Regions from separate parts of the Homo sapiens genome. Here region 2 is linked to region 1. Evidence: promoter capture Hi-C in human tissues and cell types (Jung and others, 2019). All regions are on one chromosome and are shown on one strand. The core of a region is centred on a gene start or on the middle of the fragment in contact, and the rest is flanking DNA. Distances in the headings are between cores, read along the strand shown. Region 1 holds the start of ETFA (electron transfer flavoprotein subunit alpha). Region 2 overlaps SCAPER (S-phase cyclin A associated protein in the ER).

Region 1 (4,484 bases), core at 889-3,388:
GTCCCAGCTACTCAGGAGGCTGAGGCAGGAGAATGGCGTGAACCCGGGAGGCGGAGCTTGCAGTGAGCTGAGATCGCGCCACTGCACTCCAGCCTGGGCGACAGAGCGAGACTCCGTCTCAAAACAAACAAACAAACAAACAAAAAAAACAGCTATTCTACTTAGCTTGACTTCAAATTTTAAAAATAAGTCAAGGTCAAAGTCTTTGGCAAACCACAATGAATATCTGGAAGTAATGTCTATACACATTAGCCAACGATGTGGATAGTAAAAATTACTTAATCATTCCATTTTTTTCTGTTAGCTCTACAAAATTACTGAGTCCTAAATTCCATCCCCCACCACAATTATAATTTCACTTAGGCCAGACTTGTAATCTGTCCACAAAACTGTTTTCCAACTGCTGCATAGAGCAGCATTCTTCTGGCTCAGGTTCCTGGAATTTCCCCAAATTCATGATTTTCACTTGTTTATGTCTAGATCCCCAACCGGGAGAAAACATGTCCTGAGGGGAAGACAGGACACTAACCTGAAAGACATGGGTTTGAACTCTTTAGGGGAGGGGAGGGTCAGAACTTTTTATTAAACAAGGAATACGCACAAGAAAAAAGATGTCTAAGGCCAGGTGCGGTAGCTCAGGCCTGTAATTCCAGGACTTTGGGAGGCCGAGGCAGGTGGATCACTTGAGGACAAGAGTTCGAGACCAGCCTGGGTAACATGGGGAAACCCCGTCTCTACAAAAAAAAAAAAAAAAAAAAAAAAAAAATTAGCCAGGCGTGATGATGCGCACCTGTGATCCCAGCTTCTCGGGAAGCTGAGGTGGGAGAATCGCTTGAACCTGGGAGGCGACGGTTGCAGTGAGCCCATATCGTGCCACTGCACTCCACTCCAGCATGGGAAACAGAGCCAGACCTTGTCTCTTAAACAAACAAACAAACAAACAAACAAAAGTCTAATGTCTACAGACATCTAGAAAGAGCTCCAGCTATGCCTCAGAGAGAAAAATCCCAGGAGTGGATGGGAAAATATCCATGCCCAGAAAAAAAAAAAAAAAAAAAAAAAGGAGAAAAGGTACAAACCATCAGGTAAGTTTCTGACCCAAGTTTACCAATCTTGTTTCTCATTTCACCTAAATGTAAACTAGGAAAACTACACAATCCACAATATAAATTATTGTTACTTGACTTGTGACTGGTCAGTCTCCAAATACTCCTTTCCCACAGCATGAGAAGGAAAATATGTTTCCTATCAGTCCTTCTCACAACAGAAGAGAGAAATGTGGTTTGTCACTAATGAAACACTGAAAATGTACCACTGTCACCAGTTAACCTAATCTACAATCTGCTGGTTAAAAGCAGGTCAGCCTGAAGCATATAAAAAGACGTCTGCCTTTCAAAACTGGCTAAAGCTGTCAAATCGGATCGCAGGTTTTACAAATACAATCACCTAAATTCAGCCCTGCTCCATAAACCAGAAAGCAGAACCAGCTTCCATAACTGGCCACGCAGCCTCCCACCCCACCCCACCCCCGCCCTTGACAGTGAGTGGGTCGGAGTAGCCACGATGCGCCCAAAGTGTTTAATTCTTCCAGAAATGCCGGCCTCCGGGAGGAATCTAGGTTTGAAACTTTCCCCAACAGGGCATTCCCCGGTGACATTTTGCTCCCTCGGGTGTGGAGCAAGTGTGGAGGACCTGGCGGCCCGAAAGTGCCCAGAGTGACCGACAAAGGTGGGAAACGGCAGGGCAGAGAGTGGGCCAGAAGAAGGGGCAGCAGACGCGCAAATTCACATCATTCGGGGTCACCCTGACCCCAAACCTCTGACTTCTGCCCCGAACTGGCGTTCCGCAGGGAGTCCAGGGTAGGCCCCAGAACTTTGGACCCAAGTCCCAGGCGGGGACCGGCCTGCGGGCGCGAGGGCTGGTCGAATCTGAGGGGGCCAGTGATCTTTGCAAGACCCCATAGGGACGGCGGGTTGACGGGGGGCCGTCCCTGGGTTCGCCTTCCCAGTCCGGACTCACCGCCCGCCGGAGCTGCCCCGGAGCCGCCGCTCGGAACATGGTCTCCGCTTCCGCCGCAACCTCGGCCTTACAGCAGCCCCGTGCCCGGCCAACTGGCGCCGCCTCAGCCAGTCACCTAATGCTCGCGAGACGCGCGAACGAGATAAGACGCCCTAGGCCGGGAGCACGAGCCCGCGGTTTCCGCCTGCCCATTGGGCGGCTGCGCAGCCAATAGACGGCGGGAAGTTAGGGGCTAGACTGGGAAGTGGGGCAAAGGTGAGGCTATTCCCCGGGGACCTTCGAGTAAGCCCGGGCCGCGGAGCGGCAGAGACAAAGCTGGCCACCCGCTGATGACCGAGCTCAGACTGTACTGTCTCACAGCCCCGCAATGGTCAGCACTGCTAGAGTGAACTTCAAAACTGAGCTGACCTCGGGGTAAGGTACGAGTGGAGCCTTGCCAATTCCAATTAGATACCTTTCCTATATGCCCCTATTTCCCCCTGTATTTCCCCATGGTAGCAATTGTCACATGGGTTGTAATAACCTAAGTACTTGTCTGTGTCACCCATCTGACTGAAGATCTGTAAGGGCAGAAAGTATGCCCTTTTTTTTTTTTTTTTTTTTGAGAGAGAGAGAGTCTCCCTCTGTCACCCTGGCTGGAGTGCAGTGGCGCGAGCTCAGCTCACTGAAAGCTCCGCCTCCCGGGTTCACTCCATTCTTCTGCCTCAGCCTCCCGAGTAGCTGGGACTACAGGCGCCCGCCACCACGCCCAGCTAATTTTTTTGTATTTTTAGTAGAGACGGGGTTTCACAGTGTTAGGCAGGATGGTCTCGATCTCCTGACCTCGTGATCCGCCCGCCTCGGACTCCCAAAGTGCTGGGATTACAGGCGTGAGCCACCGCGCCCGGCCAGTATGCCCTACTTTTAAATTTTGTGTCTACCTGCAACACCTAGCACAATGCCTGGTCCATACTAGGCATTCAATCAGTATGTGTTGAATGAATAAGCAAATGAATAAATGACTGCTAATGAGTCTGGACTTTAACACGAAATTTTTAAGAGGGAAGTGGTATGTTCAGAAATTGTCTCAATTCCCAATTCAGCAACAACCTACCTTTCCAATGTTATCTAGTCTATCAACAAATCCCGTTGACTCTACCTTCAAAAGATAACCAGAATCCAGCAATATCCTCCAACACCCCTTTGCTCCTCTGCTGGTATCACCTTCACTCAGGACCCTGTCCTCTCTCGCCTGGATCATTGCAAAGCCTCCTAACTGGTCTTTCTGTTTCTGCCCATGTTTCCAGAAGCCTCTTCTCCAAACTGATGGACTGATCATGACCTCTGCTCAAAGCCCTATGGTGGCTCCCTCTCCTCCCACTGCCCTCTTCTCTCACTGTTCCCCAGATACATAGGCCTTCTTGAGCACACAAGCCTGCTCCTCTCAGAGTTTTGCACTCTGGCTCTTCCCTCTGCCTGAAATGGCCTTCTCTTGTTACCCGCGTGGCGTACTTCCTCACTTCATTCAGGTCTCTGCTCAAAAAACACATTTGCAGAAAGGCCGGCCTTAGCCTCTCCACCTAAAATAGCACCCATGCCACTCCCAGACGCCCTATCACCTTGTTTGATTTTTTTTCTTGGCATTTATCACTGCCTAACAGGATGCACATGTTTGTTTATTGCTGATCTCACTGCATTGGAGTGTAAATTCCCTGAAGCAAGAGCTTTGTCTGAACTAACAAGCACTCTAAGGGCCTTGCGCTTTTGCTCTTCCCTCTGTCTGAAATTCCCTTCCCCATCTGACAGCCCTCTTTAAAACCCAGATCAAGTGACAATTCTTTTGTTCTGTTTAAGACAAGGTCTCACTCTGTTTCCCAGGCTGGAGTGCGGTGGTGCCATCACAGCTCACTGCAGTCTCGAACTCCTGGGATCAAGCAATCTTCCTGCCTCAGCCTCCCAAGTAGCTGGGACTACAGTCATGTGCCACCATGCCCAGCTATTTTTTTTTGTAGGGGCAGGGTTACCCAGGGCTGGTCTCGAACTCCTGGCCTCAAGTGATCTTCCCACCTTGGCCTCTCAAAGTACTGGGATTACAGACATGAGCCACCACGCCTGGCCCAAGTGACATTTCTTTTGTAAGCTCTTTCTCAATTCTGCAGGATGAATTAATCCTTTCCTCTTCTTCACTCTTGTAGCTCTATGAACAAGGAGGTGAGGACCCATCTTAAACTTAAGTTGCACCCACTTCGAACACGTCTGAACTCATGTTGCCGACAGAGCTGTGGACCCCTGTCCCCCAGTCAATCTGCCTGTGGGAGGGGCAATTTAGTATTCCATGTCTCACTGCATTTACCTCCTAACCAGTCCCACACTGGACTAGAATCTGAGACCTATGGGAGTGGAAGGAAGAGGGAAGGGTACTTTTAGTAAAAACAGAAAAGGATATTTTACTAAAAACCATATAAAAAACTGGGATACAAACTAAC
Region 2 (4,454 bases), core at 204-2,703, 190 kb after region 1:
AAAACAAAACAAAAAACCTCCAGGTGAATTTAAGATGAACAATATAAATTATTAACAGTTATCAAAGCACTCTCCCAAAGAATCAATATCATTTCCTTTCTTATTTCAAATATTTATTATATTTCATTCCTTTCTTCCTTTCTACCTTCCTCCCTGCCAATTAACATACAGTAAGTGAAGATAACCTGCCCAGCAACACCCTGTAAATAAAGTCCATATTGATAAGGAATAGCAACCCTTCTGGGTTATAAAAACCACTATGCATGCTATAACTTGCCTGATGGGGAGCTTTCTGCTCCACAGAAAGATTTCCTGACTTAAAGAATACCTATACCATTCTTCATTAATCTTTGTGAATAGAGGAAAGGAATCCAAATTATCTTTAATGTCAAAAGCTTGTACTTAGAAATATCTCATGTCAGGTAGCTAGCACTGTCTAAACTCTCACTTAACATTTATAATGTAACTTTACATTATAATATACAAATATACACTATAATGAACACTTAACAGTTTACAAAGAGGTCTCATATATGTTATTTCAACCGGTCCCATAGTAGCACCACGAGGTGAATATGATTACATTTATTTTTCCAAATAAGGAAACAGATGCAATGAAATTAAGGCACTCACTCAAATTTTCTTAGCTAGTAGCCTGGCAGAGGTAAAACTAGAACCCATGTTTGTCCTACTCCAAAGCCAATGCTATTTCTTTTTAATACAAATGCCTCTCAGAAAAAAAAGATAACATACTCTTGGAATTTTTTTTCCTGTTGTATCCAATGGACAAATGAAGCATTTACTTTTTTTTTTTTCTTTTTGAGACAGGGTCTTGCTCTGTTGCCCAGACTAGAATGTGGTGATGCAATCATGGTTCACAGCAGCCTTGACCTCCTGGGCTCTAGTGATCCTTCCTTTCTTAGCCTCCTGAGTAGCTGGGACTACAGGTGTGTGCCACTATGCCTGGCTAAATTTGTTAATGTTTTGTAGGGACGGGGTCTCGCTACATTGCCCAGGCTAGCCTTGAACTTCTGGCCTCAAGTGATCCTCCTGCCTTGACCTCCCAAAGTGCTGGGATCATAGATGTGAGCCATTGCGCCCTGCCTAAATGAACTTTTATTAAAACCTCTTATTTAAACTCTGTAAATAAGAGTCTCCACAAAATACCCAGAAACTGCAGACGTTACAACCCAGGAACACAATACTTCTGAAACAACATTGCTGCTATACCCCAGGTGGCCAGGGACTAAAGGGGGACTTAAGAGAACAGGAAAGCAATTTACCGTTAAAGACCAACGTGCAACTCAGTTCCCAGCAATTTGGCTGGGATGCTAGACTATGGCACTCTTCGCCTCTGACTGCTCTTCCTGTATGGTAGGAACTTCTTGCAATTTCACAGCTCAGACTTTTGCTAATGTACTTACTCACCTCTTTTTTCACATGTAACACAGTAAGTTAGCTTTCTGTTACTATTATTTATTTTGCTCAATTTTTGGAAGCAGTTAGAATTGCTCAAGAGTTCATCAATTCTTCTTGATTTCAGATTAGAGCACATCACAGACCAAAGAGATTTCCTTTATAAGGCTTTTTAGGCTCAATTTGAGTTTCGTAAGTGACGTTGAGCACCTCTGTTTTTCTCCCTAATGGGGAGTGTAAGATTTTGGTATTCAACCCTGAATACACATACAATTTTCTTGTGGTTCTCCATATGGAAACCATAGGGCAGAAATGACTCACAAATGAAACGTAAAAAATAGATTAAGAAACTATACTTACTTAGGAGGAATTCTTAAAACTGTGTTCACATTTGTGGCTGGGACTACTGCTTGAAGGATGTGTTCAAGGGCTGTTAATCCACCAGCAGCTTGAAATGCAATCTGATCTGCCACATTCTAGACAGAAATACAAACAGAAGTTAGCCCAATTTCCCAGGCATTAAACTATAACCAAATGATATCTGTAGTCTGAAACATACTGATGGTTCAACTATTCTACAAATATTATTTTATAAATATTTGCTGAATGCTACTCACTGCTAATTGTTTCAGTACTAGGAAATATAGGTCAAAAGGAGTGAGCATAAAACATATGGTTGCTGTCCTCCATGAAGCTTAAAATTGGTAGATGGCAAGCACAGGCAACCAAAGCAAAAATGGACAAGTGGGATCACATCAAGTTAAAAAGCTTCTGCACAGCAAAGGAAACAATCCACCAAGCAAAGAGACAACCCACAGAATGGGAGAAAATATTTACAAACTATCTATCTGACAAGGGATTAACAACCAGAATATATAAGAGCTCAAACAACTCTGTAGGAAAAAATCTAATAATCCAATTTTAAAATGGGCAAAAAATCTGAATAGACATTTCTCAAGAGAAGACATACAGATGGCAAACAGGCATAGGAAAAGGTGCCCAACATCACTGATCATTAGAAAAATGCAAATCAAAACTACAGTGAGATATCATCTCACCCCAGTTAAAATGTCTTTTATCCAAAGACAGGTAGTAACAAATGCTGGTGAGGATGTGGAGAGGGAACTCTCATACACTGTTCGTGGGAATGTAAATTAGTACAATCACTATGGAGAATAGTTTGGAGATTTTTCAAAAAACTAAAAACAGAGCTGCCATATGACCCAGCAATTCCACTGGTAGGTATATGCCCAAAAGAAAGGAGATCCATATATCTAAGAGATATCTGCTCTCCCATATTTACTACAGCACTATTCACAATATAGCCAAGAACTGGAAGCAACCTAAGTGTCCATCAGGAGATGAGTGGATAAAGAAAACGTAGTACATATATGGAATGGAGTACTATTCAGCCATAAAAAGGAATGAGATCCTGTTATTTGCAACAACATAGATGGAAGTGGAGGTCCTTATGTTAAGTGAAATGAGCCAGGTGAAGTAAGACGAACTTCACATGTGCTCACTTATTTGTGGGAGCTAAGCATTAAAACAATTGAACTCATGGAGATAGAGAATGGAAGGATGGGTACCAGAGACTGAGAAGGGTAGTGGGGGGGACGGGGTAATGGGGAAGGAAGTGAGGGTAGTTAATGGGTACAAAACAATAGTCAGAAAGAATAAGACCTAGTACTTGATAGCCCAACAGCGTGAATATAATCAATAATAATTTAATTGTTCATTTACAAATAACTAAAAGAATATAGTTGGATTGTTTGTAACACAAAAAATGAATGCTTTAGGTGATGGATACCCCATTTACTCAGATGTGATTATTAAGCATTGTATGCCTATATCAAAATATCTCATGTATACCATAAATACATATATAAACTATGTACCCACAAAAATTAAAAATTAGAAAAAAAAATGAGTGGCTAGGACCAACACTAATCAGATAGTTATAAATAAGGTGATTTTAATTATAAGTACCTTGAAAGATAAAAGGTTCTCTATGAGAATAATGGGGGAATCAACTATATAATGGGGAAAGGGTCAGGATAGGCTTCTCTGAGAAAATTGAAGTTTTAAGACATGTAAAAGAAAGTGGGAAGAGAAGAAGCACTCCAGGCAAAGGAAAAAAATTATATATACATTTTTAGCAACACTTACTTAAAAATCACATCTTTATCACATTGTAATCTTAATTACCACCTAACAATATAGACTTCCACAAAGATTCCCTCTACTAGAATATTTGTCTTCAGCAATAAAAGATAATCTAATATCTAATCATTTTAGCTGTATCCTTTTTAAAAAATACCATTTCAGCTATTTTGGGAGAACATTAAGTAACAATTTTAGAACTAAACCTATGATTATTTCTATGCAATTTACGATCTGTATATAATTCTTGTGGGAAATAACATTTCCAAGTTATTTGCATTTCTTTGGCATGGGGAAGAGAAGAGTAATTCTATGCTACACTGTATGTTTTTAAGCACAGGTAGAATCAATGCAATATATATGTAAAAAATAAGATAGCAACTTATTGTGACTTGAATTGTGCCCCCCTCAAAATTCATATGTGGAGGTCCCAACCCCTAGTATTTCAGAATATAACTGTATTTGAAGAGAAGATCTTTAAAGTGGTAACTAAGTTAAAAGTGAGGCCGTTAGAGTAGGCTCTGGTCCAATATGACTGGCGTTCTTATAAGAGGAGAAAGAGACACTGGGGTTACACCTGCACAGTCAAGAAGCTACATGAGGACACAGCAAGTGGTGGCCATCCATGAGCCAAGGAGAGAGGTGTCAGGAGAAACCAAACCTGTTGACACCTTGATCTTGGACTTCCAGCATCTAAAACCGAGGGAAAATCAATTTCTGTTGTTTAACCAACCCAGTCTGTGGCACTTTCTTATGGCAGGCCCCAAGCAAACTAATACAACCCCTCTATTACATCACCACCTTATATTTCTTCTAATAGCATTCCACAGCCTTGAAACGCTGAAATACTGAGGTTTTTTTTGAAAAGGGAGTAG

The links. The method cuts DNA at HindIII sites, captures the fragments that hold promoters and counts their contacts. A contact is called where the count stands out against the background at its distance.
Region 2: a fragment that was not itself captured here is called in contact with the fragment with the promoter of ETFA in region 1 in 1 of the 25 tissues and cell types used here (mesenchymal stem cells).

The regions. Positions count from the first base shown.
Region 1 is chr15:76,309,331-76,313,814 of GRCh38, forward strand. It overlaps ETFA (electron transfer flavoprotein subunit alpha), which reads right to left and starts at 2,139. Exons shown (of 12, transcript NM_000126.4): 1 at 2,020-2,139. The coding sequence starts at 2,058. RefSeq lists enhancers at 1,391-1,891, 1,892-2,392, 2,602-2,651, 2,712-2,761 and a cis regulatory region at 4,323-4,484. The HindIII fragment of the contact is 24,969 bases long and covers 1-4,484 here.
Region 2 is chr15:76,503,083-76,507,536 of GRCh38, forward strand. It overlaps SCAPER (S-phase cyclin A associated protein in the ER), which reads right to left. Exons shown (of 32, transcript NM_020843.4): 24 at 1,777-1,892. Among named protein-coding and RNA genes, the nearest start is that of MIR3713, 81 kb to the right of the region's middle. The HindIII fragment of the contact is 4,231 bases long and covers 1-3,569 here.